Linked DNA regions of Homo sapiens: all the other regions are linked to region 5. Evidence: promoter capture Hi-C in human tissues and cell types (Jung and others, 2019). All regions are on one chromosome and are shown on one strand. The core of a region is centred on a gene start or on the middle of the fragment in contact, and the rest is flanking DNA. Distances in the headings are between cores, read along the strand shown. Region 1 holds the start of AMBRA1 (autophagy and beclin 1 regulator 1). Region 2 overlaps CKAP5 (cytoskeleton associated protein 5). Region 3 overlaps CKAP5 (cytoskeleton associated protein 5). Region 4 overlaps ATG13 (autophagy related 13). Region 5 holds the start of F2 (coagulation factor II, thrombin).

Region 1 (4,211 bases), core at 773-3,272, 130 kb after region 5:
CTGCACTCCAGCCTGGGCGACAGAGCGAGAGTCCGTCTCAAAAAACAAAGAAACAAAAACAATGTAGTTATCTGAGTAAAATTTGAATGAGGGCTATAGCTATGCTCCACAAGCCTCTCCAAGAAGGAGAGTTTTCTTTCTTTCTTTTTTTTTTTTTTTGTAGTCCCGAGTAGCTGGGACTACAGGCTCCTGCCACCACGCTTGGCTAATTTTTTGTATTTTTAGTAGAGACGGGGTTCACCGCATTAGCCAGGATGGTCTCAATCTCCTGACCTCATGAACCGCCCGCCTCGGCCTCCCAAAGTGCTGGGATTACAGGCGTGAGCCACCGCGCCCGGCCTGGGCAGTATTTTCAAAGACTTAGAGGAGATTTTTGTAAAGTGCCAATACATTATTTAAAAAAGGCTAATACTGTAAGGATGTGCTCTTTGAGTTTAATTAAAGTCTTCAAAGGCTGGGACTTTTTTTTTTTTTTTTTTTTTTTTTTTTTTTTTTTTTTTTTTTTTTTTAGACGGAGTCTTGCTGTGTCGCCCAGGCTGGAGTGCAGTGGCACGATCTCTGCTCACTGCAACCTCCGCCTCCTGGGTTCAAGCGATTCTCCTGCCTCAGCCTCCCGAAAAGCTGGGATAACAGGCACCCGCCACCACGACCGGCTAATTTTTGTATTTTTAGTAGAGACGGGGTTTCACCATCTTGACCAGGCTGGTCTCAAACTCCTGACCTCGTGATCCACCTGCCTCGGCCTCCCAAAGTCCTGGGCTTACAGGCGTGAGCCACTGCGCCCGGCATTTAAAAAAAAAAAAATTTAAGATAGGGTCTTGCTCCATAGATCAGGCTGGAGTGCAATGGTGTGATCATGGCTCATCGCAGCCTCCACCTCCCGGGCTCAGGATATCCTTTCATCTTAGCTTCCCGAGTAGCTGGGCCTACAGGCGGGAGCCACCAGGCCCGGCTAACTTTTTGTATTTATTTATTTTTTTTTTATAGAGACTGGAGTCTCACCATGTTGCCCAGGCTGGTCTTGAACTCCAGGGCTCAAAGCAATCCACCAGCCTCGTCTCCTAAAGTGCTGGAATTATGGACGTGAGCCGCTGCGCCCGACAAACTGGGACTATCTTGTTTCCTTTTTACACCCTTCCTCTCTGAGTAGTGGGGAAGGGTGTAAACCTCCCTAGGAGCAGGTAAGGTAGACTATGATTGCTCACAATTGGTAACCATACTTGCAGTGATCTTTGTGATTTATTGAATCACATCTAGGATGTACATATTAATCCATATTTGTGCTGAGCATATTCATTTATCAACTAAGAGACTACAGAAAAAAGCCATTGTTGTGGTGATGAAAATGTCAACACTTTATCAGGTTCTGAACCCAAAGAGACTTTTGCTTATTATGTAAGAAGCACACCTGTGGCTCTAGGCCTTTGGAAGAAAATAAAAGAGAAAAGCAATCCGTGTGCTTTTTTTCCCCCTGCCTTAAGGTCAGGCTACATAATTCTGGGTTTTCCCAGCTTCTCTTGGTCATGCTTTGTGGGGACTAAACTGGAGCTTTTACGTAGACTGTTCATTTTGTTCCTCAGCTTGAATTCTCTCTCGTTTTCTGTCTCTATGATTTTTAATTCCCCTCACTGCTCTGTTAGGAAACTAAGGGTCAAATGAGGTTAACTAATTTGCTCAATTGGGATAAAGAGTGTTGGGAGTCCATAGAACAGTTGGGGGACTATAGTTACACAACAAGTGTTATTGCGCTATGATTTGATCTTCAACACATTCACGAGAAACTCCAGTTCTCTAAAGAACTTTAACAGCCGGCGACCCACAGAAAATGGCAGAAGTGCAGGCTCTTTTTTAACCCGTGGCTTATGATCTGGGTTTGTTTATTTACGCCTCAGACAGGAGCCGGACCTTGAGTAGGAGTTGAGCTGTTTTTCGGCGCTCGGCTGTGGTTCCTTGAACGATTGCTTGGGCGTTCCTCCTTTGATGTCTGGGGCGTTCTTGTATTCGGTGATCTTTTGCGCCGTCTTCTTGCTTGATGTCTCCTGAGCGGCGGCGGCGCCGGGTCGAGGGCTGAGTTGTCCGCGAGGCCCCGCGCTCAAGCCGCCTTCTCCTGCCGGTCGGTAGAACGGACCCCTTCCTTTATTCCTGTCTCCTCTTTCTTTTTCCCTGTGGCTCAGCCCGTTCGCTGGACTGCAAACCGAGCTCCCGTCTGCCTTGCAGGTAGGCCCAGGAGGAGCCTGGGAGGCCCAGCCCGGCATCCTTCCGCCGCGGGGTTGAGAAGACCTTGGCGCCGGCGGGTGGGCAGGCTGGCCGGCCGCCGTGACACTGCCAGAGGAGGGGCTACCGGACTGCGTTGAGGGGCGCGGCCGGAGGGGCAGCCCGGAACCGAGGGAGAAGCCGAAAGGAGGGAGAGTTGCTGGGGCTTCCCGGTGTGGTTCTTTAGGGAGGAGATGTTGGGTCTAGGGCACCCCCAGTGTGTGGCGAAAATGGCTTTCCAGGAACCGATAGAGCTTTGCGCACTTTGACCCTCCTTCCTTTCTCCTTTTCCCCCCACCCCGAAGTCTCCGGGTGTCATGCCTCAATTGCACTGGGGACCCCTACTGAGTCCAGCCTTTGAAGGGACCTTTGAGTAGGTGGAGGCTTATGGAACAAGGCCCTCTGGCTCTTCTGAGCGAAGTGTTATGTTCTCGCCTTTTTCTGGGTGGGTAAACTGAGGCTGATGTCTGGGACGTGACTTCCCCACATATCCCCAACAGATCATTAAATTCACTGTAAGTCACTTTTTGTCGTTTACCAATTCCCTTCCCCCCACTTACCAGTCAAGTTATGAAAACAGTGAGTTATTGTTTGATCGTCTGTGATCCCAATTTTCCTAGGAATATAGACTGTTAGGAATATAGATCCTGTCACAAGAGGCTTCAGAAGTAAAGGAACCATGTGGTTTCTTGGCTGTTTTGCTTTTCAAAGTCTGTATCATTTTAACTAGTGTAGCAATGACAGTTTCTTTTTGTTTCTTGATAACCTTGTTGTCTACTTTGTTTCCTGATAACCTTGTTGTCTACTTTGTTTCCTGATAACCTTGTTGTCTACATTGTTTCCTGGTTGATTTATCCTCCTTCTCCCCAGCCTCTTTGGAAATCTTATAACTATGGTGTTTGTGGTTAGAGGTTAGAGTCTAGTAGAGGATGGTCAAGACTTTGAAGGCAAACGCTTGTCCTGTGAGGGTCTGCTTTCTGGGGAGTATCCAATGGAAACCCAAGGAGTCTGTCTCTCTTTTTTCTTTTTTTTTTTTAAGACAGGCTAGCTCTGTCGCCCAAACTGGAGTGCAGTGGCGCGATCTTGGCTCACTGCAACCTCTGCCTCCCGGGTTCAAGCGATTCCCCTGCCTCAGACTCCCGAGTAGCTGGAAGTACCGGCGCGCGCCACCACACTCGGCTAATTTTTGTATTTGTAGTAAAGACGGGGTTTCATCATGTTGGCCAGGCTGGTCTTGAACTCCTGGCCTCAAGTGATTCGTCCACGTCGGCCTCTCAAAGTGCTGGAATTACAGGCATCCACCGCGCCCGCCCAGTTTTGTTGTATTTGATTAGTAGTTTGGTCACTGCACATACAAAAGCTAAAAAAGGCTGTGTGTAGAAATCATTCAAATATTGAGATATTTAAATGAAAGGTTAACGCTTTGGGAACTCCTTTGTGGTTCCCTTTTCCTTCCCAGCTTGGAAAGTCTGGGGACTAAGTCTGTTATTTTCATCGGATTCAGTACCATGATCCTAATTTGTGTCACTTCATTCTTGGAAAAAAAAAAATTCAGCCTGTCGGGCGCAGTGGCTCACTCCTGTAATCCCAGCACTTTGGGAGGCCAAGGCAGGTGGATCACCTGAGGTCGGAAATTCGAGACCAGCCTGACTAACGTGGAGAAACCTAAAAATTCAAAATTAGCCGGGCGTGGTGGCGCATGCCTGTAATCCCAGCTACTTGGGAGGCTGAGGCAGGAGAATCACTTGAACTCGGGAGGCGGAGGTTGCGGTGAGCCGAGATCACGCCGTTGCACTCCAGCCTAGGCAACAAGAGCGAAACTCCGTCTCAAAAAAAAAAAAAAAAAAAAATCAGTCTTGAGGTCATTCTGGGTTGGATAAGTTTCCAAAGTATGTAGAATCAGTAAGAGAGCGTTTTTTTGTGTGTGTGTTTTTTGAGACGGAGTCTTGCTTTGTCCC
Region 2 (4,486 bases), core at 8-2,507, 66 kb before region 5:
ATGTTACAAGCCTTATTTAATTTTCAGAGTTGTGAGATAAGTTGATTTGGATAGTTTTTGCCAGTGTTCTTTGTTGCTTTTGAGGAAGATCAGTTTTTCAGAGGTATTGACTCCACAATTGCAGAAGTCCCACCCAAGATAATTACATTTCTTTGGTTTGTTTTTTGGTTTGGGAATTTTTTTTTTAATTTTTTAAATTTTTATTTTTTCACATGCCTGCTATGTCAAATTTTGGGGGTTTGAGACAAAGTCTCACTCTCTTGCCCAGGCTAGATAGTGCAGTGGTGTCAACATGTCTCTCTGCAGCTTCAGCCTCCTGGGTTCAAGTGATCCTCCCACCTCAGCCTCCCAAGTAGCTGGGACTACAGGCGAGGGCCACCATACCCAACTAATTTTTGTACTTGTTGTAGAGCTGGGGTCCCTCCATATTGACCAGGCTGGTCTTGAACTCCTGGGCTCAAGCATTCCCCTCGACTCAACCTACCAAAGTGCTGGGATTACAGGCATGAGCCAGGCGATAATTGCATTTTAAAAGAGGATGTTTGTGTGGCTGGGCACAGTGGCTCACGCCTGTAATCCCAGCACTTGGAGAGGCTGAGGTGAGATCCCACTTGAGATCCACTTGAGGTCAGGAGATCGAGACCAGCCCGGCCAACATGGTGAAACCTCATCTCTACTAAAAATACAAAAATGAGCCAAGCGTGGTGGCGGGCGCCTGTAAGTAATCCCAGCTACTTGCGAGGCTGAGGCATGAGAATCGCTTGAACCCAGGAGGCAGAGGTTGCAGTAAGCTGATATCTCACCACTGCACTCCAGCCTGGGTGACAGAACAAGATTCTGTCAAATAAATACATAAATAAATGGGAGTATTTGTCACCTAAATTAATCTGTATAATAGGATTTCTAGTGGCGTAACAAAAAAAGTTAAAATATTCACACAGTACAAAGAAAAATATTTATGAGCAAAGGGGTCCTTAATCCCATAGGTCTGCCATCACAATAATATCTTTAAATTATTTTCCACAGATCTTTTTATTCTTATACTTAAAAGCCAACAAGTTCTCTAAAATCTCTGAAGTTCTGTGTTGCATGTGTGTATAAGAGGGTTGTAGTGTTTTTGTAGGCAGCCCTAGTAGTAATTCTCAGTTATGCAGTCAGTATAGTAATTTATTGTGTATTTTAGGGTGTGTATTCAGTACTAAATGCAAATAATCATAAGAGGAGGAAAATTTAAAAATCAGATTTTTCAATTAATAAACTTTCTGTGCAATATTACTTGTTAGTATTTTGGAACACTGAGTAGCTTTTTTTCCCTCTCTTCACTGTCAGTTAAGTAATTGGTAACAATTAAAGGATACAAATTATTTTGCATATTTGTTTAAAATCCTGATTTTACTTTAGTTGTGTTTCCAGCTGTCCCTAACCATGTCATATCTGTTACATGCTGTTAATACAAGTAAATAAATAAATGTCCTTGGCTTGCTCTTAGCTTTATGATACTGATCCTTGTTCAGGTGATGCAAATGAAGCTTCATATAGTTGCTTTGATTGCCCAGAAGGGAAATTTTTCCAAAACGTCAGCTCAGGTTGTATTAGATGGCCTTGTGGACAAGATTGGAGATGTGAAATGTGGGAACAATGCAAAAGAAGCTATGACAGCAATAGCCGAAGCCTGTATGTTACCATGGACTGCTGAACAGGTTAGTGACACAGAAGTCTTATTCCTCTAGTTTTCCCAATTTTTTCCCCCAAACTTTAAGCTTACTAATTAAACATTAGTTTTTATCTTCTCAAGTAAAATCTTTTTTGATACTGCATTTTTTTTGAGATGGAGTTTCACTCTGTCGCCCAGGCTGGAATGCAATGGTGCAATCTCGGCTCACTGCAACCCTCCCGGGTTCAAGTGATTCTCCTGCTTCAGCCTCCCGCATAGCTGGGATTACAGGCACCTGCCACCACGCCTGCCTAATTTTTGAATTTTAATAGAGACAGGATTTCGCCACGTTGGCCAGGCTTGTCTCGAACTCCTGACCTCAGGTGATCTGCCTGCCTCGGCCTCCCAAAGTGCTGGGATTACAGGTGTGAGCCACCATGCCCGGCCCTTTGATACTGCATTTTTATTTTTACCTTAAAAAATACTCTATTGCCTAGTGATGAAAATTCATCTTAGTCAAAAATATTCGGTCAGACACAGAGGCTCACACCTGCAATCCCAGCACTTTGGGAGGCCGAGGCAGGAGGATGACTTGAGGCCAGGAGTTTGAGAGCAGCCTGGCCAACATGGTGAAATCCCGTCTCTACCAAAAATACAAAAATTAGCCAGGCGTGGTGGTGCACACCTGTAATGCCAGCTACTAGGGAGGCTGAGGCAGGAGAATCACTTGAACCTGGGAGACAGACGTGGCAGTGAGCCGAGATCACGCCACTGTACTCCAGCCTGGGCAACAGAGTGAGACTGTCTCAAAACAAATAAACAAAAAATTCTATAGAAGGTGAAAGCCCACGAGCTTGAGGCTGCAATGATTGATGATTGTGCCACTGTACTCCTGGGTGACAGAGCAAGACCCTGTCTCTAAAAAAAAAAAAAAAACATTATAATGCAGAGTAATTGCTGCAAAGCTATAAATAGTCCAGAATGCCTTTAGTCCTACTATCATTTCACCTCATTTTCTTGTGTAGGTTCACTCTTGTTCCTAAGGCATTCTTGCAGTTGTTTTAGCGTCAGAAAACTAGTTTAATGCACATCTGCCTTAATGTCATGCTGTATTTCTATAAGAAATACGAGATAAAACACAGATCTGCTGTTTTTCCCTTTTCAGGTTGTGTCAATGGCTTTCTCACAAAAGAATCCCAAAAATCAGTCAGAAACTCTGAATTGGCTATCAAATGCCATAAAAGAATTTGGTTTTTCTGGGTAAGTCAGAACGAAATCAAGTGGAAAATAGTTAAATGTTCTGTCAGTCTCTAAGTCGTGCTGTTTATAATAATAGCTATTGCTGTTTATTTCTGAAGAGTGAGAGCTGGATTGTCTCATTTATATAAAAGAAAATTACCTTTGTTCTCAAAGGTCTATATTGGCTTGTGTTCCTGCTTTTTGATGTTCACTGAAAGAGTTCTCTACGTTATTTTTCCTTAAGCATTAATAGCTGTCCCACAGAAAATCCAGTTCCAAGAATTTCTAGTCAAATACATTAGGAAATTTCTGTATATAATTACATTTGTTTAAAGACCTATAGTATGCCTTGGCGAATTAACTGCTGTCAGAAATCCTGCAATAGAAGAGCTTGTTTAACTTTGTTTAACCCACTGTTCCCAAACTTATTTGCTTATAGAGCACGGTTGTTTATTTAAAACAAAACTTTATACAGTTTACTTTATCCCAGGTACTTTTAAAAAGCACTTTCTAAATCATAATTCATTTGATTTAATCATCATAACAACTAAGCGAGGTATTATATTATCCCTATCTTATAGATGAGGACTAAGGCACAGAAAGTTTAAGTAATTTGGGCCCATCATAGTTAGGAAAGTGGCAAAACCAAGATTTTAATCCAGGCATTCTGGTTTGGAGAAAGAATGATGTAGCTGCTATACTATGTTACCTTTCTCTGTGCCATGCTACATTTTGCAACATGCCTGTTAATATCTTGTAAAAGGGTATTTTGAGTTCTACTGATTGAAAAAACACTACTCTAGAAGTTACTCAAATAACAAAGAACGGTTTGTTATGTTATTATCTGTGGTGTTCGCCCATAGTTGAGGGTATTGTTATAATTCCTCTTAATTGTATAGTCTTTGATATAACACACATCTCTTGGCATGTCACTTATAAAAGCCATATATTTTCCTCTTTTTTGTTATGATCTTTCATTTATTCATTTATTAAACAATTACATATTGGCCACTACAATGTTCCAATTGTTTGTTCCAGTCCTTCAGAATACATCATGAACGAAATTAAATTTCTGTTTCATGGGAGTTACATTTGAGTAAAGAAAGATAGGTAATAAACAGTTAAAAATATATATATAGAGAGAGAGAGACAGAGACAGAGAGGCAGGCAGGCCGGGCGCGGTGGCTCATGCTTGTAATCCCAGAACTTTGGGAGGCTGAGGTGTGCAGATTACCTGAGGTCAGGAGTTCGAGACCAGCCTGACCAACATGGAGAAACCCTGCTTCTACTAAAAATACAAAATTAGCTGGGTGTGGTGGTGTACGCCTGTAATCCCAGCTACTCAGGAGGCTGAGGCAGGAGAATCACTTGCACCCAGGAGGCAGAGGTTGCAGTGAGCCAAGATCATGCCATTGCTCTCCAGCCTCGGCAACAAGAACAAAACTCCATCTCAAAAAATATATATCTATTTTTTTTTACATATATATGTTTATGTAAAGCAGGATGAAGGGTTAAATGGAATAATGTGGTATAGTTTAGATGGTGTTGTTTTCTATATAGTAGTTGAAGAGTTCTTCCTGAAAAAATGACATT
Region 3 (4,428 bases), core at 1,908-4,407, 95 kb before region 5:
AAAGTTATTGTAAAGTCTTATTAAGGAGTCAAGAGTAGTCTTTTATTATTAAAGGTACATATCCGTTCCCTCTGTGAAGAAATTCTCTTTTCCTAAAAAGTGTTTAAAACGACTTAAAAAATTTTTTTGCCCAGATGCAGTGGCATGTGCCTGTAGTCCTAGCTACTCAGGAGGCTGAGGCAGGAAGATCGCTTGAGCCCAGGAGTTTGAGGTCACAGTGAGCTATAATCCCACCACTGCACTCCAACTGGGTGACAGCACAAGACCCTGTCTCTCTCTCTTTTTTTTTTTTTTTCTTTTTGATACACAGTTTCGTACTTGTTGCCCTGGCTGGAGTGCAATGGCGCGATCTTGGCTCACCACAACCTCCACCTCCCAGGTTCAAGTGATTCTCCTGCCTCAGCCTCCTGAGTAGCTGGAATTACAGGCATGCGCCACCACACCTGAGTAATTTTGTATTTTTAGTAGAGATGAGGTTTCTCCATTTTGGTCAGGCTGGTCTTGAACTCCTGACCTCAGGTGATCCACCCGCCTCAGCCTCCCAAAGTGCTGGGATTACAGGCATGAGCCACCATACCCGACCAACCCTGTCTCTTTAAAAAAAAAAAAAAAAAAAAAAAATTGAAAGCAAGCATTCTGTAACCCTACTTTTGTAAAGTATATTTGTATGTCCATATACACACACACTTAGAGAAAGGTCTGGAAGGAGGGATATCAAAAAGTTGAAAGTAGTTTTCTCTGGGTGGTGGGATTTCAAGGGATCTTTAATTTTTTGTTTGAATTTTCTACATTTATAAACTGTTACTATGCCTGCTATGACATGTCTTAAAATTTTATGTTTAACGTTAAGTTTTTAAAATATTCTTGAACATAAATTTAAAAATTAAAGACTCATTTACTGTATTTCTAGCATTTGTAAAAGTACTAGTACACCCCCTTTCCGTGACCTTTTTCCAATTCTTACTACTTAAGTGGGATTTTTGTTCTTTATAATATGTTACAGAACCACAGGAGAAGTTGTGTCAGGTGTTGTAAGTAAGGTGTTCAATCAACCTAAAGCTAAAGCCAAGGAGCTGGGCATAGAGATCTGTCTTATGTACATAGAGATTGAGAAAGGAGAGGCTGTTCAAGAAGAGCTCCTGAAAGGCTTGGACAATAAGAATCCCAAGATCATAGTGGCCTGTATAGAGACACTGAGGAAAGCCTTAAGGTAAGACTTTGTTTTAGCTTTGTTAACTAGAGCAGCAGTCCCCAACCTTTTTGGCACCAGGGACCAGTTTCATGGAAGACAATTTTTCCATGGAAGAATTGTGTGTTGGGGGGATGGGGGGGTCGTTTTGAGATGAAACAGTTCCACCTCATAAGGAGCATGCACTCTAGATCCCTCACATGTGCAGTTCACAGTAGGGTTTGCACTCGTATGAGAACCTTAATGCCCTGCTGATCTGGCAGGAGGCAGAGCTCAGGGGGTAATTCTCGCTTGGTAGCTGTTCACCTCCTGTTGTGTGCCTGGTTCCTAACAGGCCACTGTACTGGCCACAGCCCAGGGGTTAGGGATCCCTGAACTAGAGTATCTCAATTGAGTTTGGATTCCGGGTTTAAACAGAAATGGAAACTGCAGAATTTGACTTGGCATGCCAAAACAAGCAAGAAAGTGACCTGAATAAGGAAAGTCATTCCCCAAGTGTGGCACTTCATGTTGACTAATTTTAGCCTTCAAGTGTGTTGTGTAGTTATTTTATCTGAATCCCTTTCTAATGAAGATGAATAGAGATTTCTGACCTGTTATCAGATTAAGAATTAGGCTTTTCAGTTGGGGGCAGTGGCTCATGCCTGTAATCCCAGCACTTTGGAAGGCTGAGTTAGGAGGATCACTTGGGGCCAGGAGTTTAAGACCAGCCTGGGCAAGATGGCAAGACCCCTGCCACTATAAAGAAGCTGAGGTGGGGAGGATCTCTTGAGTCTAGAAGTTCTAGGCTGCACTGAGCTGTGATTGTGCCACTGCAATTCAGCCTGGGTGAGAGAGCAAGACCCTGTCTCTTTAAAAAATAAATAAATATGGCCAGGCTCAGTGGCTCACTCCTGTAATGCTAGCACTTTGGGAGGCCAAGGCAGGCAGATCACAAGGTCAGGAGTTTGAGACCAGCCTGGCCAATGTGGTGAAACGTCTCTACCAAAAATACGAAAAAATTAGCTGGGCATGGTGGCGCATGCCTGTAATTCCAGCTACTCGGAAGGCTGAGGCAGGAGAATTGCTTGAACCTGGAAGGCAGAGGTTGCAGTGACCCAAGATCATGCCACTGCACTACAGCCTGGGTGACAAAGCAAGACTCCCTCTCAAAAATAAATAAATAAATACATTTTAAAAATTGGCCTTTTGGTGGAAAAGCACTGAAAAGAAAAGTACTGGCCTTTTGTTGGAAAACTACTCCTCAGGGTATTTAAGCAGCTCTTTTTCTCTTGCTATCTTAAGTATAGACTTTCGAAGTCTATACTTTGAGATGTTGGCTAAAGATAAAGTTTGTGGACTAAAGCTAACCTTTATTTAGGTGCCTTTTTAGTAAAGTAGAAGCAAATGCTATATGCCTTTAAAGAGACGCACAGTGAAAGCAAATAGAAAAGTAACTTTTGCTCTTATGTAGTAAGTTCTTTTCAACCCTAGACTTTCTTGTTTGGCCATGAAATTTTTCATGAATAGGATCTCTTTCAGGAACAAGTGGATGTAATTTGCTATGGAAATCTGAATTAGACAGATCACTAGTTTGTTCAGACTTGGCAGTTCTTCTAATCTGGTATCCTGTCCCCAAGTACTGTCTATATCAGATATTTTAGAAAGCAGCTGTAGTAAAATCCTCACGGAATGAAGATCATCCATCTCACCTCTCATGATTTTGTGTATGACCTACATCTTGGAGAAAAATGTTTCCTTTGGTGTTTATCTTCTGTGAAAGTATAAAAACTCTTGTATTTTGTTGAATGATCTTTGATTTATAGGTCTTTAATATTGTTTTTTGCTTTGCTCATAATGTACTTTTATAAAATTTGACTTGCTTAGATTCTTACGTGAATGAAGTTTCCTTGTTTCTAGCCTATTACAATATAGTAAGCAGATGTTTTTCTGAGTAGTAAACAGTATGCTCATTCTATTATCTTAGAAATTTAGTGACTCATCTTAGTTATCAGAACTATGCTTATATCAATAAATCTTTTGTGTCCTTAGTGATGTCTAAATTTTAAAAAATACTGTAATCTTTTTTTTTTTTTTTTTTTTTTTTTGAGACAAGGTCTCGCTCTGTCACCCAGACTGGAGTGCAGTGGTACGATCTCAGCTCACTGCAACCTCCGCCCCTGGGTTCAAGCGATTCTCATGCCTCCAGCCTCCTGAGTAGCTGGGACTACAGGTGAGCACCACCACACCCAGCTAATTTTTTTTTTCTTTAATAGAGATGGGTTTCTCCATGTTGGTCAGGCTGGTCTGGAACTCCTGGCATCAAGTGATCCCACCTCGGCCTCCCAAAGTGCTGGGATTACAGACATAAGCAACCGCACCTGGCCTATAATCTTCTACCTTTAAATTACAAGTTTCTAGTCTGGAGTGCTGTGTACTCTGGTTATTTCATTTTTTAGCTAAACTGGGAGAATAAGGGTAGGAAAATAACAAGTTACGTATATCTCATGTTTTCTTCATAGATGTTGTTATGTAGTCCCATCCCTGTGTGGTTCTTTATTTGTCCTAAAGCATTTCAGAGTCTATAGTTTAACTAGGTAGCTCTCTGGGACCCTCAAGAACCTTGAGGCCAAACTGCTTGATCCTGGGTTCCAGAGCTTGCTAAAGCTTTGTTAGTGAGAGCTTCAGGTGACCAGAAACATTTGTGGTACCTAAAACAGGTTTCTAGTACCCTTTTGTGTTTTCTATAGTAATACGTTTAGTATCAAAATTAGGTTTTATTTTATTAAGGTGTCTATTTTCCATGTGGACTTGCTCCATCTTTTTTTTCTTACAGAAGGAGGCCAGGATAGAGAAAAAAGATTCAGATGAAACAGTAATAATATATAGGAAGATTTAAGAAATCTCAAATGTTAGGTTCTTCAGGCACCATGTTAAATATCCCTAAAACAAAATGGTTTATTGCCACTATAATTTCTTATTTTTTGTTTAATCTTAAAGGTCAGCTGAGCCAAGTTAAAATGTAATTTTTTTAATAATATAAAAGCATTTTAAAAAATCTTAGAGATTATGTAGGTTATTCTCATGATATTTGTACTTAAACTATATCACATAGCCAGGTATCTTATTAAAAATTCTTTTTTTATTGTGCCTGTAGTCCCACCAACTCAGGAGGCAGGAAGATTACTTGAGCCCAGGGGGTGAGGCTGCTGTGAGCTATGATTGTGTCACTGTACTCCAGCCTGGTTAACAGAGTGAGA
Region 4 (4,599 bases), core at 295-2,794, 82 kb after region 5:
AAATAAGCCAGGCATGGAAAGACAAATACTGCATGATCTCACTCGTGGAATCTAAGATGTTGTTATTAAAGTAGTAGAGAGTAGAATAGGAGTTACCAGAGGATGGGGAAGTAGGGTGTAGGTTGATGGTGAGAAATTGGTCAGCAGGTACAAGGCCACAGTTAGATAGGAGGAATAAGTTCCAGTGTTCTATATCATAGCAGAATGACTGGAGTTAACAATAATATATATTTCAAAATAGCAAGAGAGGTTTTTTTGTTTTGTTTTTTGAGACAGAGTCTCACTCTGTCACCCAGGCTGGAGTGCAATGGTGCGATCTTGGCTTACTGCAACTTCCGACTCCCGGGTTCAAGCGATTCTGGTGCCTCAGCCTCCCTGAGTAGCTGGGATTATAGGCATGCGCCACCTCGCCCAGCTGATTTTTGTATTTTTAGTAGAGACAGGGTTATGCCATGTTGGCCAGGCTGGTTTTGAACTCCTGGACTCAAGCAATTCACCTGCCTCAGCCTTCCAAAGTTCTGGGATTACAGACATGAGCCACCGTGCCCAGTCAAAAAAGAGGTTTTTAAATGTTCTCATCACAAAGAAACAATAAATGTTTAAGATGATGAATATGCTAATTATCCTGAATAGGTCACTACACAATTTAGACATGCATCAAAACACGAACCCCATAAATATGTATAATTATTATGTATCAATCATAAATTAAAAATGAAAACAAAAAACCATTGGCCCAAAAGAGCTAGGACTTAATACCCTACATTTTGGTCCCCACGTCCTCCAACTTAGGACCAACTGAAGAAAGCCAAATATGCACCTCCTAACCAATCACACAGGATGCCCTGCTTCTAGTCAGCCTGCCGCCAGCTGCCCTATGCCAGGAGCCTCCAATTAGGGAAAACTTGAAACCTTCCCTTTTTCCCCCACTATAAAGCTTTCCCACTCCTCTGTCCGCTTCTGAGTCTCTGCCAAATGCAAATGATAACAGCTGACTCTTTTGCTCTGAATAGCCTGCGCTTGTTCTCATCTGGGTGCTATTTCCATATGAAAAATAGTTTTGATGCACTTTGGGAAGCTGAGGCAGGCAGATCACTTGAGGTCAGGAATTTGCGACCATCCTGGCCAACATGGCAAAACCCTGTCTCTACCAAAAAAATACAAAAATTAGCCAGGAGTGGTGGTGTACACCTGTAATCCCAGCTGCTCGGGAGGCTTGGGCAAGAGAATCACTTGAACCCTGGAAAAACATTATTTTTTGAACATAAAAAAGTGCTTACCATCAAACGAAAGATTAATAAATTATTAAAATTCAGAGAAAAGAAAATACATTTTTGCTGATCTGCAAATCATGAAGATATTCTCCTGTATTTTCTTGTAGAAACATTTTGTTTTATTGCACCACTGCATCCCATCCTGGGAAACAGAGTGAGACTCCATCTCAAAATAGATCAATAAAAATAGCTGAGTTGTAGCTCTCAATAAACAGTATGTTGAAAGTATACAATTTAATAGGATTCAACACACTTATGTATGGTAAAACCATCACCAAAAACAAAATAGTGAACCCCTATAGTTCCCAAAAGTTTCCTCATGCCTCCCTTTAGCCACTCCTTAATACCCCTTATCCTTAGGAAACCTCTGATCCTTAATCTGCAGTTTGTAGAATTCTTTCTCAATGGCTGGGCGCAGTGGCTCACACCTGTAATCCCAGCACTTTGGGAGGCCAAGGCAGGCTAATTACAAGGTCAAGAGATCGAGACCATCCTAGCCAACATGGTGAAACCCCGTCTCTACTAAAAATACAAAAATTAGCTGAGGCGTGTTGGTGTGCGCCTGTAGTCCCCGCTACTCGGGAGGCTGAGGCAGGAGAATTAACACTCTAGCCTGGTGACAGAATGAGACTCCACCTCAAAAGAAAAAAAAAAACTGTATCAACTAAATCACATAGGCCCAGCGTGGCAGCTGACACCTGTAATCCCAGCTCTTTGGGAGGTTGAGGCAGGAGGATCGCTTGTGGCCCAAAGTTCAAGAACAATCTGAGCAACATAGTGAAACTCCATCTCTACCCCCAACAAAAAAAGGAAAAAAGATTAAATCATACAGTATATACTCTTTGCCTGGCTTTTTTTTTTTTTTTTTTTTTTTTGAGACGGAGTCTCGCCCTGTCCTCCAGGCTGGAGTGCAGTGGCATGATCTCGGCTCACTGCAAGCTCCGCTTCCTGGGTTCACGCCATTCTCCTGCCTCAGTCTCCTGAGTAGCTGGGACTACAGGTGCTTGCCACCATGCCCAGGTAATTTTTTTGTATTTTTAGTAGAGACGGGGTTTCACTGTGTTAGCCAGGATGGTCTCGATCTCCTGACCTCATGATCCACCCGCCTCTGCCTCCCAAAGTGCTGGGATTACAGGTGTGAGCTACTGCGCCTGGCCCTCCCAGGATAGGGATATCTAAACAAATTTATAGGGAGAGACAAGAAGTCAATGAAGGAGAAATAAAAGATGTGAGAGAGGAAATAATTATTGGAATACGATGCCACAGGATAGTCCACCGTGATCAAGAACAGGTTAATGGCCTAAAGCGATCCAAACTATAAATGACTTACCTACTGGAATCTATCATTTGTAGATCTGGCTGCATTTGAAACATATACCCACTTCAGACATTCCTAATTTTGGTTAAAAAGAACACTAACAACTGTGCCATTGTACTCCAGCTTGGGTGACAGAGCAAGGCCCTGTCTCACGAAGAAGAAAAACAAAGAAAGAAAGAAATGCGCTGCAGGATTATACTGCCCTTATCTTACACTAAAGGTAAGAATTGGATTATCACCATCAGATTATCTACCAATGCAATCATTATAACGGCACAATGGCTCCAATGACTTTTTGTACAACTGGTAGCATTGAAAGGATTATGTAACTACAGTTATTGAGCCAAAAAGGGTGCAGTCTCCACTAGGGAAAAAGTTATCTCCCAGGCCTATGTGTTCCCTTAGGTCCAGTTAACCAAGCAGTCAATTCATCCTCTACAAGATAAATGTATGTAAGGTTTACTTTACGCTTTGCTCTTTGCAAAATTCTTTCTTTGAGTGCTCCTATGAATACAAAGGTAAATTTGATACAAACATTAAAGAAACCTGCAATTGAACAACTTCCTTTTTTCTGCCCTTTGCTATTAACTATCCAGTTACTAAATCCTGCAACTCTTGCTATGCAATTTTTTAAAAAAGAGATGGGGGTCTCTCTATGTTGGCCAGGTTGGTATTGAACTCCTGGACTCAGGCAATCCTAATTACCCTGATTTGATCATTACACAATGTATATATTTATCAAAACATCACTGTATCCTATAAATATGTACAACAATTATTATGTCTTAATTAAAATAAAACTTTTAAAAGGCCAAGCTCGGTGGCTCACGCCTGTAATCCCAGCACTTTGGGAAGCTGAGGGCAGGGGATCACATGAGGTCAGGAGTTCGAGACCAGCCTGGCCAACATAGCAAAACCCGTCTCTACTAAAAATACAAAAATTAGCCAGGAGTGGTGCCGCAGCCTGTAATCCCAGCCACTTGGGAGGCTGAGGCACGAGAATCGCTTGAACTTGGGAGGCAGAGGCTGCCATGAGTTCAGACAGCACCCTTGCACTCCAGACTAGGAGACAGAGAGAAAAACCCCTACTTAAAAAAAAAACAAAAAAAACCTAGGCCAGGTGAGGTGACTCATGCCTGTAATCCCAGCACTTTGGGAGGCTGAGTCGGGCGGATCACAAGGTCAGGAGTTCAAGAAAAGCCTGGCCAATATGGTGAAACCCGGCCTCTACTAAAAATACAAAAAATTAGCTGGGTGTGCTGGCACACACCTGTAGTCCCAGCTACTGGGGAGGCTGAGGCAGGAGAATCATTTGAACCCAGGAGGCAGAGGTTGCAGTGAGCCGAGATCGTGCCACTGCACTCCAGCCTGGGTGACAGAGCAAGACTCCGTCTCAAAAAACAAACAAACAAAAAAACTAGGCTGGGCGCAGTGGATCACACCTGTAATCCCAGCACTTTGGGAGGATGAGGTGGGCGGATTACTTGAGGTCAGGAGTTTGAGACCAGCCTAGCCAACATGGTAAAACCCTGTCTCTACTAAAAATACAAAAATTAGCTGGGTGTGTTGGTGCATGCCTATAGTCCCAGCTACTCAGGAGGCTGAGTCAGGACTGCTTGAACCCGGGAGGCGGAGGTGCAGTGAGCTGAGATTGTGCCACTGTACTCCAGCCTGGGCGACAAAAACTCAGACTCAAAAAAAAAAAAAGAAAACTAAATTAAATTAAAAAGAAAAAAAGAATCCAATCCCAGCACTTTGGGAGGCCGAGGCCGGTGGATCACAAGATCAGGAGATCGCGACCATCCTGGCCAACATGGTGAAACCCCGTCTCTATTAAAAATGCAAAAAAACGTTAGCTGGGTGTGGCGGTGCATGCCTGTAATCCCAGCTACTGAGGAGGCTGAGACAGGAGAATCTCTTGAACCTGGGAGGTGGAGATTGCAGTGAGCTGAGATCGTGCCACTGAACTCTAGCCTGGCGATAGAGCAAGACTCCATCTCAAAAAAA
Region 5 (4,349 bases), core at 92-2,591:
GCTCACCTGTGTACTTGGCCCAGAACACATCCTGAAAAACAAGGGCTGGGAGTGAGGCTACGGCAGCTCCTGTTTTGTGTTGTTTTAGTAAATGTTATGTCTCCTCCTCACACTTTCCTTTACCCTGGTCACGCAGGGGGCAGGCTCTGGGGAGGTTTGTGGCAGAGTTTCCTACTTTTGTTTCCAAAAGGAGAAGAATATTTGAGGATAGGGGAGTTCCTCCAACACACACACCGAGACTGAAAGAGGCTGGGGGAGATGGGAGGAGAGGGGGCAGTGGGACCCTGGCAGAGCCCTACAGACAGGAAAGGCGACACAGAGCTCCAGGAACACTGAGTCTTGAGCCCGGGGGCTTGTGGTGGCCTCCCCAGAGTCCCACCCCTCAAGGGTGGTGTGGGAGTCTGCCGCTGAGGAGGCCATGTGGACACAGAGCTCCAGGGCAGGTGGATGTCTGAAGACTGTGGAGGCCTCCCCATGTCATGGAGCTGCACAGGGACACAGTCCAGGCACAGAGACCCCCAGGAAAGGCTGAGGCCGCTCCTCTTGCCAGCCCTGTGAGGAGGGGCTCAGAGTTGAAATGAGGCTGTGAGCAGCGAAGGGGCTGTGGCGTTCCTCGCTTGCTTCTCTGTGGAAGTGTCTAGAGTTGGGCCCGGTCTGAGGCCCCGGCACCGTCCGAGCAGCCCAGGCTCACCGTAGCCGTGGAGGACTCCAGAGCCTCGAAGGCCTCCTCGTAGCTGCACGTCTCCTCCACGCACTCTCGCTCCAGGTTGCCCTTGCGCACCTCCTCCAAGAAGGTGTTGGCTCGCCGGACCCGCTGGAGCAGCGACCGTGCTTGCTGAGGAGCCAGGAACACTGTAAGGCGGTGGGGGGGTCATGGGACAGCGGCCTCAGGAACAGGCAGTCTTGGCCATTCTGGGGGCATGAAGCAAGCCCACCCTCCCCTGCTGGCTTCTGAGAGAGGCTGTCTGGGCTGGTGGAAGTGCCTGGAAGGCTGCTAAATGTGGCCCCCTGTGCCCCTCCTACACTGCCCCTTGCCCCCAGCCTGCTCCCTATATTGGAAGAGAGAAGCAGCCATTCTCTTTCCAGCCCTGAGCTCCTGACTTCTTCCCTAAGCTGGCCGCCTGGGGCTGAGACCTACTTAGGGGCCAGCTCTGTGTGCTCTGTCCAGCCAGGAGACCCCAGCCCATGGGCCCACACCCCAGTCCTCCAGCCTGTTCCAGCCTGCAAGCACTCCCTTACCATGCTGGCTGTGCACAAGGCTACACAGGGCAGCCAGGGCCAGGCAGCCAGGCAGCTGCAAGCCTCGGACGTGCGCCATAGTGTGTCAGCTCCTGGGTCACTGAGGAATTGTCTGTCCTGACCCCTCTGGGTTAATGTTGAACTAACATGAAGAAATCAGCGGAGAGGGTGAGGTCAGAGGGTCAGGGCCGTGGGGACGGGTGGGTAGATAGTCCTCCTGTCCATCTCCACCATCTGGGAGGACAGGTCCTCCTGGGAGCAGGGATGGATGGTCTAGGAGGAGTCACAAAAAAGGTCACTGTCACCCCCATCTCCCACCCTCCCCCTCTGAGATTTAGCCCATTCTGGCCAGTGGGGCTATGAGACTTTCCTGGAGCTCCTTCGAATCCTAACATATAGCGGTGGTTGCTTGTCATCTCTGTGTGCCTCAGTTTCCTCATCTATACAATGGGAATAATACTTTGTTGTGAGGACTAAAGGAGATTAGGAATGGAATGTCCATGGAATATCGTAAGTTCTTAATCAGATCTGCACATATAGGCCAATGTGGGGGTTTGTATAATCATAATACACAGATATCAAAAATAGAGACAAAGATAAAAGGTGTGGCCTGATGGAAGTTGCCCCTCGCCATGGGATGCACCAGGGATAGGAACAGCCAACATTTGCCCCAGCTTCTCAGCCACTGGAGGAGGGGCCCATTTCTCCTCCTTCCTGTCCAGGGTGCCTGGAGGTGTGTTTGTGTGTGGCAGCTGCCTGGGAGGAGTCAGGTCCAGGGACTCTTGGGCCTTTAGTCTATCTTCTGTCACCTCCCAGGACCTGCGCCTGTCCCGGAACAGGGGCTACTGAAATCCCTGGGTCTCCACTGAGGGGCCCTCCTTCTCCCTGGCTGCCTGCCCCATGGCAGGCCTAGAGAGGCTTCTGGTCCTACCCTACCCTCCGCCCTACTCCTGTCCCTCCCCCATTTCCTGTTTGCAGTACCCAAGGCAAATATTAGTCTAAGTAGGACAGAGGGACAAAGAGCAGGAACACGGGGAGGCACAAGTTCTCGCCTCGCCTCACCTGTCCTTTGGGCCTGGCTGTTTGGGGTCTGGACCAGGTCATGTGTGGGAACAGGGAGTGTTGGCAGAAAAACTGGGGACCAGGACTCCCGCAAACACCTTAATTCCTGGGAGGCCCATTTCTTATATATTTTCATATATATATTTTTAGGCCAGGCATAGTGGCTCACACTTGTAATCCCAACACTTTGGGAGGCCGACATGGCAGGATCGCTTGAGGCCAGGAGTTTGAGACCAGCCTGGGCAACATAGCAAGACCCTCATCTCTACCAAAAAAAAATTAAAAATTAGCTGGGAATGGTGGTGCATGCCTGCAGTCTGAGCTACTGAGGAGGCTGAGGCAGGAGGATCACTTGAGCCCAGGAGTTCCAGGCTGCAGTGAGCTATGATTGCACCACTGTACTCCAGCCTGGGTAACAGAGTAAGATCCTGTTTCTTTCTTTCTTTCTTTCTTTCTTTTTTTTTTTTTTTTTTGAGACGGAGTCTCGCCCTGTCACCCAGGCTGGAGTGCAGTGGAACAATCTCGGCTCACTGCAATTTCCATCTCCCTGTTCAAGTGATTCTCCTGACTCAGTATCCCAAGTAGCTGGAATTACAGGCGTGTGCCACCACACCTGGCTAATTTTTGTATTTTTAGTAGAGATGGGGTTTCGCCACATTGACCAGGATGGTCTCGAACTCCTGACCTCAGGTGATCCGCCCACCTCCACCTCGGCCTCCCAAGTGCTGGGATTACAGGCGTGAGCCACCATGCCTGGCCTGAATGAGACCTGTTCCTAGAAAAATAAAATAAAATAAAATAAAATTGAATAAATAAAATAAAATTATAATATATATTTTGGGTTTTTGTTGTTTTGTTTTTGAGATGGAGGCTGGAGTGCAATAGCGTGAACTCGGCTCACTGCAACCTCTACCTCCTAGGTTCAAGCGATTCTCCTGCCTCAGCCTCCCGAATAGCTGGAACTACAGGCACCCGCCATCATGCCTGGCTAATTTTTGTATTTTTGTAGAGACAGAGTTTCACCATGTTGCCCAGGCTGGACGTGAACTCCTGACCTCAGGTGATCTGCCCACTTTAGCCTCCCAAAGTGGGGATTACAGGCGTGAACCACTGCTACCTACCTGTTGGGTTTTTTTGTTTGTTTTTGTTTTGTTTTGTTTTGTTTTTTTGAGATGGAGTCTCACTCTGTCACCCAGAAAGGAGTGCAGTGGCGTGATCTCAGCTCACTGCAACCTCGGCCTCCTGAGTACAAGTGATTCTCCTGCCTCAGCCTCCCAAGTAGCTCCCAAGTGCATGCTAGGGATTACAAGCATGCACTACCACGCCCAGCTAATTTTGTATTTTTAGTAGAGATGGGGTTTCACCATGTTGGTCAGGCTGGTCTCGAACTGCTGACCTCAGGTGATCCACCTGCCTCGGCCCCCCAAAGTGCTGGGATTACAGGTATGAGCCACTGCCCGGCCTCTTTGCAGACTTTTACTCACAGTTGCAGGCCTGTTCAGTATATGACATTCTTATACCCAGAAATGGCTATCTTAGCCTGGGCTGCTATAAAATTACTGTAGGCCAGGTGCAGTGGCTCACGCCTGTAATCCCAATACTTTGGGAGGCCGAGGCGGGCCGATCACAAGGTGAGGAGTTCGAGACCAGCCTGGCCAACATAGTGAAACCCCGTCTCTACTAAAAACACATAAATTAGCTAGGCATGGTGGCACACACCTGTAATCCCAGCTACTCGGGAGACTGAGACAGAAAAATTGCTTGAACCCAGGAGGCAGAGGTTGCAGTGAGCCGAGAGTGTGCCAATGCACTCCAGCCTGGGCGACAGAGCAAGACTTCATCTCAAAAAAAAAAAAAAATTACTGTAAACTGGGTGGTTTAAACAACAGACATCTACAAGGGGTCTTCGAAAAGTTCATGGAAAATGCGTATTATGAAAAAAGACTGCATGGATTTAAAAAAATTTTTGTGCACCAAAATAAACTCACACTAACTTGCTATAACATGAGTGAACAGGATGTAGTTTGAGGCACTAAGAAGGATAAGAC

The links. Contacts are between HindIII fragments. The study calls those that stand out against the background at their distance.
Region 1: the fragment with the promoter of AMBRA1 here is called in contact with the fragment with the promoter of F2 in region 5 in 1 of the 25 tissues and cell types used here (spleen).
Region 2: a fragment that was not itself captured here is called in contact with the fragment with the promoter of F2 in region 5 in 9 of the 25 tissues and cell types used here (H1 embryonic stem cells, IMR-90 fibroblasts, aorta and 6 more).
Region 3: a contact is called between a fragment that was not itself captured here and the fragment with the promoter of F2 in region 5, in 3 of the 25 tissues and cell types used here (ovary, stomach and thymus).
Region 4: a fragment that was not itself captured here is called in contact with the fragment with the promoter of F2 in region 5 in 2 of the 25 tissues and cell types used here (small bowel and thymus).

The regions. Positions count from the first base shown.
Region 1 is chr11:46,591,834-46,596,044 of GRCh38, reverse strand. AMBRA1 (autophagy and beclin 1 regulator 1) reads left to right here and starts at 2,022. Exons shown (of 18, transcript NM_001387011.1): 1 at 2,022-2,217. RefSeq lists enhancers at 1,838-2,267, 1,770-2,270. The HindIII fragment of the contact is 25,136 bases long and covers 1-4,211 here.
Region 2 is chr11:46,781,702-46,786,187 of GRCh38, reverse strand. It overlaps CKAP5 (cytoskeleton associated protein 5), which reads left to right. Exons shown (of 44, transcript NM_001008938.4): 17 at 1,515-1,700; 18 at 2,820-2,914. Among named protein-coding and RNA genes, the nearest start is that of SNORD67, 21 kb to the right of the region's middle. The HindIII fragment of the contact is 4,962 bases long and covers 1-3,738 here.
Region 3 is chr11:46,812,980-46,817,407 of GRCh38, reverse strand. It overlaps CKAP5 (cytoskeleton associated protein 5), which reads left to right. Exons shown (of 44, transcript NM_001008938.4): 4 at 1,004-1,210. Among named protein-coding and RNA genes, the nearest start is that of CKAP5, 31 kb to the left of the region's middle. The HindIII fragment of the contact is 3,118 bases long and covers 1,599-4,428 here.
Region 4 is chr11:46,634,108-46,638,706 of GRCh38, reverse strand. The region is part of intron 2 of ATG13 (autophagy related 13); the gene reads right to left. Among named protein-coding and RNA genes, the nearest start is that of ATG13, 19 kb to the right of the region's middle. The HindIII fragment of the contact is 9,077 bases long and covers 1-4,599 here.
Region 5 is chr11:46,716,205-46,720,553 of GRCh38, reverse strand. It overlaps F2 (coagulation factor II, thrombin), which reads right to left and starts at 1,341. Exons shown (of 14, transcript NM_000506.5): 1 at 1,240-1,341; 2 at 692-852; 3 at 7-31. The coding sequence starts at 1,318. The HindIII fragment of the contact is 9,646 bases long and covers 1-4,349 here.